Linked DNA regions of Homo sapiens: region 2 is linked to region 1. The links are contacts of gene promoters, found by promoter capture Hi-C in human tissues and cell types (Jung and others, 2019). All regions are on one chromosome and are shown on one strand. Each heading gives the region's core, a stretch centred on a gene start or on the middle of the fragment in contact. The rest is flanking DNA. Distances are from core to core; before and after follow the strand shown. Region 1 holds the start of LSM14A (LSM14A mRNA processing body assembly factor). Region 2 holds the start of GPATCH1 (G-patch domain containing 1).

Region 1 (3,537 bases), core at 698-3,197:
GTTTTTCATACTACTTTTAAAATTAGACTTGGTGATTTTAAAAAGTGTATAATTCAATGATCTTCAGCAAATTTGCAGAGTTGTGCAACTATCACCATCTCATACTACTCCTTTATGGTGTACAGTTCTGTAACATCAAAAGGTTCCCTACCCAGGTATAAGATTTGTCCCAACACCAGGGCTATTAAAAAGATTTACCAGAGGCTGGGCGCGGTGGCTCATGCCTGTAATCCCAGCACTTTGGGTGGCCGAGGCGGGTGGATCACCTGAGGTCAGGAGTTCGAGACCAGCCTGGCCAACATGGTGAAACCCCGTCTCTACTAAAAATACCAAATTAGCTAGGGGTGGTGGCAGGCGCCTATAATCCCAGCTACTTGGGAGGCTGAGGCAGGAGAATCACTTGAACCCGGGAGGCGGACGTTGCAGTGAGCCGAAATCATTGCCTTTGCACTCCAGCCTGAGCAAAAAGAGCTAAACTCCATCTTAGAAAAATAAATAAATAAATAAATAAATAAAGGATTTACCAGAGCATCCAAGAAATATTATTAAATACTTGATCCCGTGAAACCACTCCCCTATCTGTTAACGATTTTTAAAATTTTACAGATTTCGAAAATCTTCTTCTTTATCCTTGGACCTAACCTATCCACAGGGTCCCTAACCATGCTATGCAGTTCCCACCTCTACCAGAAGTGCTGGGAAAATCACCTAGGTTATCTAGCTTCCCTCAAAGTATTTTACACTGTTGTGAGATTTCCTTTAAGATTCAGGAGCTAAAGTTTATTTTCTTTCTGGTTTCCTGGCGGAGCAAAGGCCCTGCACGTGTGAACGGAAACAAAACCCACACAGACTCTAGGGATGCCAAATATTAACACTGTGGGTAGGGGCACCTTCCTTCTCGGCCGAATTCCCTTTCCCAGAGAGCCTCCAGAGGGATCAGTCAACGCCCACTGAGCCTGGATCAAAGGTCAAGCTTGCCTGGTCAAGAAGGATCCTGGATCAAGCTTGAACCCGTTTCCAGAAACAGGGGCGTCGGGGCAGCAGCAAGCATTTTTACCACGCGCCCTAATGAGGTGGTTGCACAACAGGCTTTGAGGATTCCGGTTTAACAGGTAAATACCAACAGAGGATGAGCCGAGGGAGATGGGATCTGCTCCACGGCATCGATGGCATTTCGAGAATGTCTGCGTCGCAGAGCAAACCCAAAGTTTTAGCACATTACTCAAGAGTTCACCAGAGGAAGATCGCCACGAATTGAAATGAACAAAGTGAGAAAATGGGTGCTGTGTAGTCAACGCATCCGCGATGAACTCAAGCTGGGCGGAAAAATTCTTTGAATACTCCGGCTTTGTTTTGTGCTAAGACGGCAGAAGCCCCGAATTTCGGAGTTGGAAGACGCGTTTCTCCGTGTTCTCCGGCCCGTTCTCGGACTTCAGGGCCGCCCGCCGCGCACTCAGTCCCGTAGTTCCCCGGGCTTCAGGCGCGGACATTCCGGGGGGCGGAAACCAGGGAGCCGCGGGGAGGCCGCGGTCCGGCCCGCGACGCCGGGGCCCGGAGAAGGGAGGCGAGAGGCCTCCCGGAGCTCGACGGAGGGAGGGGAGGGAACGAGGAGGCCGCGGGCCGGAGCGGGGAGCAGCCCCGAGCGGCGCCCGGCTCGGCCCCCACCCTGAGGCCCGGTCCCGCGTACCTTTGGCAAGGGCTACGGTGGAGTTTTCGGTGTCGATGGTGTAGAGGATGCCCTCGTAGCGGATCTCCGCCTTGGAGATGAGGCTGATCTTGCTGCCGATGTAAGGGGTGCCCCCGCTCATGGCGCCGCCGCCGCCGCTCCCAGCTGCTCGCAGAGAGGCAGATCCCACGCCACTGTCGCCCGCTCCGCACGCCCGCTCGCTCCGTCGGCGCCTACAGCAGCCGCTTCAGACCCAACATGGCGGCGGCGCCGGCTCCGCTACCCTCCCCCAGCCTCCCGCCCTCAAGCCGCGGCGCGGCGGCGGCGGCGGCGGCGGCAGCGGCGGCGGCGCGGGGCATGCTGGGAGGGCGAGGCCGCGCTCTCGCGAGACTTGGCCGGCTACTGGTGGCTCCCGGCTCATTCGTGGCCTCGGGAGTCCCGGCAGCGCTTGTTGGCCTGGACTACGGTGGTGGTCTTGGGGCCGCGTGAGAGGAACTTCGGGGACCGGCTGAGTGCCTCGTGGCACCCGCTTGCTGCGGGCTGGAGAGGAGGCGCGCGGCCTTCCTTTTGACTCAGGCCGTGGCCGCCTTGTCGTGGGTCCTGTGTCTTTGCCGACGCGGGGCCCTCGGCCTGGAGCGCTGCCCACCCGCCTCCGAGCTGTGGCGAGCCGCTGCTCATCCTTCTAAGACGCTGAACCTGCACCTCGTGGAGCTCCTACGGCTCCATTACCGCAGTCATCGCCCGGGGAGCTTCCCCCGAGGCTGCCCCTGGAGCTGGGGCTCTCACAAGGACTCAAGTGTTTCAGCCCCTTCCTGTCCCGCTCATTCAGCCGGTCTGAACCAGTTTCATGGCTTGCAACGCCATTGTAACTCACTAATCCCAATTATCAGTATGTAGCTTGGATCAATTCCGTGAACCAGGGTTTCTGTCGAATCTCAAACGTTAAGGGTCCAAAGCCATGCTCCCTGTTTCCCCTCTAACCTGCTCCTTCACCACCGTTCCCTATTTGATGTAAACGGTACCATTTTTACTCAGCTGCTCAGACTAAAAGCCGTGAGTCAGCCTTGCCCTGTCTTGCTTCCACATCTGTTCTGACTACACCTCTCCGTTATGTATACACAATATATCCTAAATCTGACTTCTCATCTCCATTCCTACACTTCTCCCACAAGCCACGATTACTCGGGCTGAATTATTGCAGTAGCCTTCTAAAAGTTGCCTCTGTGTCAACTCTTGCCCCCAGTACTTTATTCTCAATACAGCAGCCAGAGAGATCTTCTTAAAATCTAACTCAGGGCTGGGCGCAGTGGCTCACGCCTGTACTCCCAGTACTTTGGGGGCCCGAGGCGGGCGCATCACCGGTCAGGAGTTCGAGACCAGCCTGGCCAACATGGTGAAACCCCGTCTCTACTAAAAATATAAAAAAATTAGCCAGGCGTGGTGGCGCGCGCCTATAGTCTCAGCTACTTGGGAGGCTGAGGCAGGAGAATTGCTTGAACCCAGGAGGCGGAGGTTGTGGTGAGCCGAGATTGTGCCACTGCACTCCAGCCTGGGCGACAGAGCGAGACTCCGTCTCAAAAAAAAAAAAAAAAATCTAACTCAGATCATGTCCTTCCTCTACTCACTCTACTGATCCCATGTTACACAGAGAGAAAACCAGACTTTGGTGTCTAAGGATATACATGATTTAGCTTCTCGTTCTGTTCCAGTCGCGTCTAATTCAACCAGTACTTGAGCACTTTATTCCAGTCTCTGCTCAAGCATCACCTCCAGAGATGACGTCCCTGACAGCCTTGTTTAAAATAATACCACTCATCTCCTTAACTCAGCTTGTATTTTCTTTATAGCATGTATCTCTCTCAAGTATGTCT
Region 2 (3,540 bases), core at 359-2,858, 1.1 Mb after region 1:
GTAGAACAGAGATGTCTTAAGAAAATGCAACAGCTGACTTCAAACACATAAAAAGCATTCGGAAGACTAGCCTTTCTCAGCCTTTTGTTTCGTTTGTTTGTTTGTTTGTTACAGACAGAGTCTCACTACAATGCCCAGGCTGGTCTCAAACTCCTGACCTCAAGCAATCCTCCCACCTCAGCCTCCCAGAGTGCTGGGATTACAGGTGTGAACCACTGTGCCTGGCCCCTTTCTCAACCTTTTGTAAGCCGAGGGTAGAAGAAGGGCCAGTATCCAGCAGAAGTTTCCACCAGAACTGTTTGTAGGAAATAAAGGGGGCATAAGTGGAGATATCCCAGAAGTACAATCAACCTGGCAGGATGTGGTCAGGGTGAAAAAAGGGAGGGGACCCCCACCAACAGGAGGTCTGCAAATAAATTGTGGCCCAATGATTCCACCATTCTTCCTCTGCCTTCCCTACAGGGCTAGCACAGCCAACAGCCCTTACTGGACACTCAATACATAACTTGCTGAACAAGTCAAGTCGTTAAGTGGAACAGACCAGAAACACAGGAGAGAACCTTGATTCATCTTGCCCCTCACCCCCACATTCCACCAGCAAGTATGGTCAGCTCTGCTTTCAAAATATATCTCCACCCAGACCACTACACACCACCACCACTGCTGTCCCATCCATGCCACCATCATCTCCTGACCTCTTTTTGCTAATCTCCCTGCTTCACTCTTACCCATCCCCAACCAGTGTATTCTCAACATCAAAGATAGAATAACATTAAAAATTGGCCGAGCACAGTGGCTCAAGCCTGTAATCCCTGCACTTTGGGAGGCAGAAGCGAGAGGATCACTTGAAGTCAGGAGTTCAAGACCAGCCTGGGAAACAGAGCAAAACCCTGTCTCTAAAAATCATATATATATCCCTCCCTGTGTAATTTCCCATGACCCTAACCCTAACCCTAATCCTGCACTTAGTACAAGATCCAAACTCTTTACCCTACCAAGTAAGATCCAGCCCCTGTCAGCCCCTCTGACATTCTTTTCTACCTGTCTCCCCCGCTGTCATCTGCTGCAACCATACCCGTCCTGCCTGCCCCTCAATTTCCTAAACTGGCTCCCACTTCAGGGCCTTTGCCACTTTATGTTCCTTCTGCCTGAAATGCTTTCCCTCCAGATTTGCTCATGGTTGTTTTCTTCCTCGGTTTCAAGTCTGAGCTCAAACGTCCTCTCTCGGGGAAGACACTGCCTGAGCACCCCCCGCTCTCACACTAGCTATTCCGTCATTTTCTTGTTTCTATCTCGCCGCCCCCTTGTTCGGCCACGCTTGTGTCTCCCGTCCCTGTAAACCTCTCTCTGTCGCTGCAGAAGGTGAGCACCCCGAGAGCGCGGCTAACGCCTCCCTCGTCGCCGTGTTCCCAGCGCTGGGAACGATCTAACAATGGTCCAGCACCGACTTGTGCTTTTGTGGCCCGAATCCTGGGCCCTTGGCCTGTTTTCCACAGGCTCCGCCGGCCCACGCGGCCCGCACCTTCTTCCAGAGGCTCCAGCCCGGTCCCATAGCTGACCAGATCTTCTTCGCTGTCACTGTCCCGCGCCGCCATCCTGCTCTTCCGGGCCCCGCCCCCTCGCTACGGCGGCCTTGGCAGGCCAAACGCCTTTCCTCTTTCTCCTCCGCGAACCCCGGTGATGCTGGAAGGCTGGGTCCGCGGGCGGGGGAAGGTGTCCTAGCGGCCCGAGCCTGCGCTCCGGATTCTCAGGCCCATCCTGTGGTAGGCCGTCCCAGGCAGGAGTTGCCTCGGAGGATTTGGCAGCCACGACATCCCATCCTAGCCCCGCGATGTGCGGGTGAGGAGGAGACTCCTGGCATAAGCTGGAAGCCACCCAACTGTTCCCTGCGAGGCGACACCGATGCCTGCCCAGCCCCCTACCCCCGTCCCTCGCGCCAGCCCCCTGCCTTGGCAGCAGTCACTGCCCAGCCCCGTCCACTCCCACCGCCCACCCAGCCACCTCCAGGGAAATGGCTGAGCTCCCAGATTTCATGCTCGCCCCGTGGGGCTTCGCTTTATTTTTATTATTATTATTTTTTACTTTTATTTTGGGTTCAGGGGTACATGTGCAAGTTTGTTATATAGGTAAATTGCATGTCGCAAGGGATTTGGGTTACAGATTATTTCCTCCCCAGGTAATAAGCATAGTACCCAATAGGTAGTTTTTCCGATCCTCACCCTCCTCGTACCTTCCACCCTCAAGTAGGTCCACCCTCAAGTAGGCCCTGGTGTTATTCCCTTTTTTTTTTTTTTTTTTTTTGAGACAGAGTCTCGCTCTGTCGCCCAGGCTGGAGTGCAGTGGCCGCGATCTCAGCTCACTGCAACCTCCGCCTCCCAGATTCAAGTGATTCTCCTGCCTCAGCCTCCTGATAGCTGGGATTATAAGCGTCCACCCCACCACGCCCTGCTAAATTTTTGTTTGTTTGGTTGGTTGGTTGTTGTGGTGGTTTTTTTTTTTTTTTTCTTGAGACAGAGTTTCACTCTTGTTGCCCAGGCTGGAGTGCAATGGCACGATCTCGGCTCACCTCAACCTCCGCCTCCCGGGTTCAAGCGATTCTCCTGCCTCAGCCTCCCTAGTAGGTGGGATTACAGGCATGCACCACTATGTCTGGCTAATTTTGTAATTTTTTTTTTAGTAGAGACGGGGTTTGTCCATGTTGGTCAGGCTGGTCTCGAACTCCCCACCTCAGGCGATCCATCCACCTTGGCCTCCCAAAGTGCTGGGATTACAGATGTGAGCCACCGCACCCGGCCATTTTTTTTTTTTTTTTTTTTTTTTTTTGTATTTTTAGTAGAGACTGGGTTTCACCATGTTGGCCAGGCTGGTCTTGAACTCCTGACCTCAAGTGATCCACCCGCCTCGGCCTCCCAAAATGCTGGTATTACAGGCGTGAGCCACTGCGCCTGGCACCTGTCATTCCCTTCTTTATGTCCATGTGTGCTCAATGTTTAGCTCCCACTTATACGTGAGAACATGCAGTATTTGGTTTTCTGTTCCTGCATTAGTTTGTTTAGGATAATGGCCTCCAGCTGCATCTATGTTGCTGCAAAGGACATGGTCTTGTTGTTTCTTTTTTTTTTTTTTTTTGAGACGGAGTTCGCTCTGTCCCCCAGGCACGCCATTCTCTTGCCTCAGCCTCCCGAGTAGCTGGCACTACAGGCGCCTGCCACCACACCCAGCTAATTTTTTGTATTTTTAGTAGAGGCGGGGTTTCACCGTGTTAACCAGGATGGTCTCGATCTCCTGACCTCGTGATCCGCCCATCTTAGCCTCCCAAAGTGCTGGGATTACAGGCATGAGCCACCACGCCTGGCCAGTCTTGTTCTTTTTTTATGGCTGTGTAGTGTTCCATGGTGTATGTGGACCATATTTTCTTTATCCAGTCCACCATTTGTGGGCATGTAGGTTGGTTCCATGTCTCTGCTATTGTGAGTAGTGCCTCAATGAATATATGCATGCATTTGTCTTTATGGTAGAACAACTTATATTCCTTTGGGT

Evidence for each region. Contacts are between HindIII fragments. The study calls those that stand out against the background at their distance.
Region 2: a contact is called between the fragment with the promoter of GPATCH1 here and the fragment with the promoter of LSM14A in region 1, in 1 of the 25 tissues and cell types used here (dorsolateral prefrontal cortex).

The regions. Positions count from the first base shown.
Region 1 is chr19:34,170,914-34,174,450 of GRCh38, reverse strand. LSM14A (LSM14A mRNA processing body assembly factor) reads right to left here and starts at 1,947. Exons shown (of 10, transcript NM_015578.4): 1 at 1,688-1,947. The coding sequence starts at 1,808. The HindIII fragment of the contact is 14,704 bases long and covers 1-3,537 here.
Region 2 is chr19:33,079,249-33,082,788 of GRCh38, reverse strand. GPATCH1 (G-patch domain containing 1) reads right to left here and starts at 1,608. Exons shown (of 20, transcript NM_018025.3): 1 at 1,523-1,608. The coding sequence starts at 1,595. RefSeq lists an enhancer at 1,384-1,713. The HindIII fragment of the contact is 22,582 bases long and covers 1-3,540 here.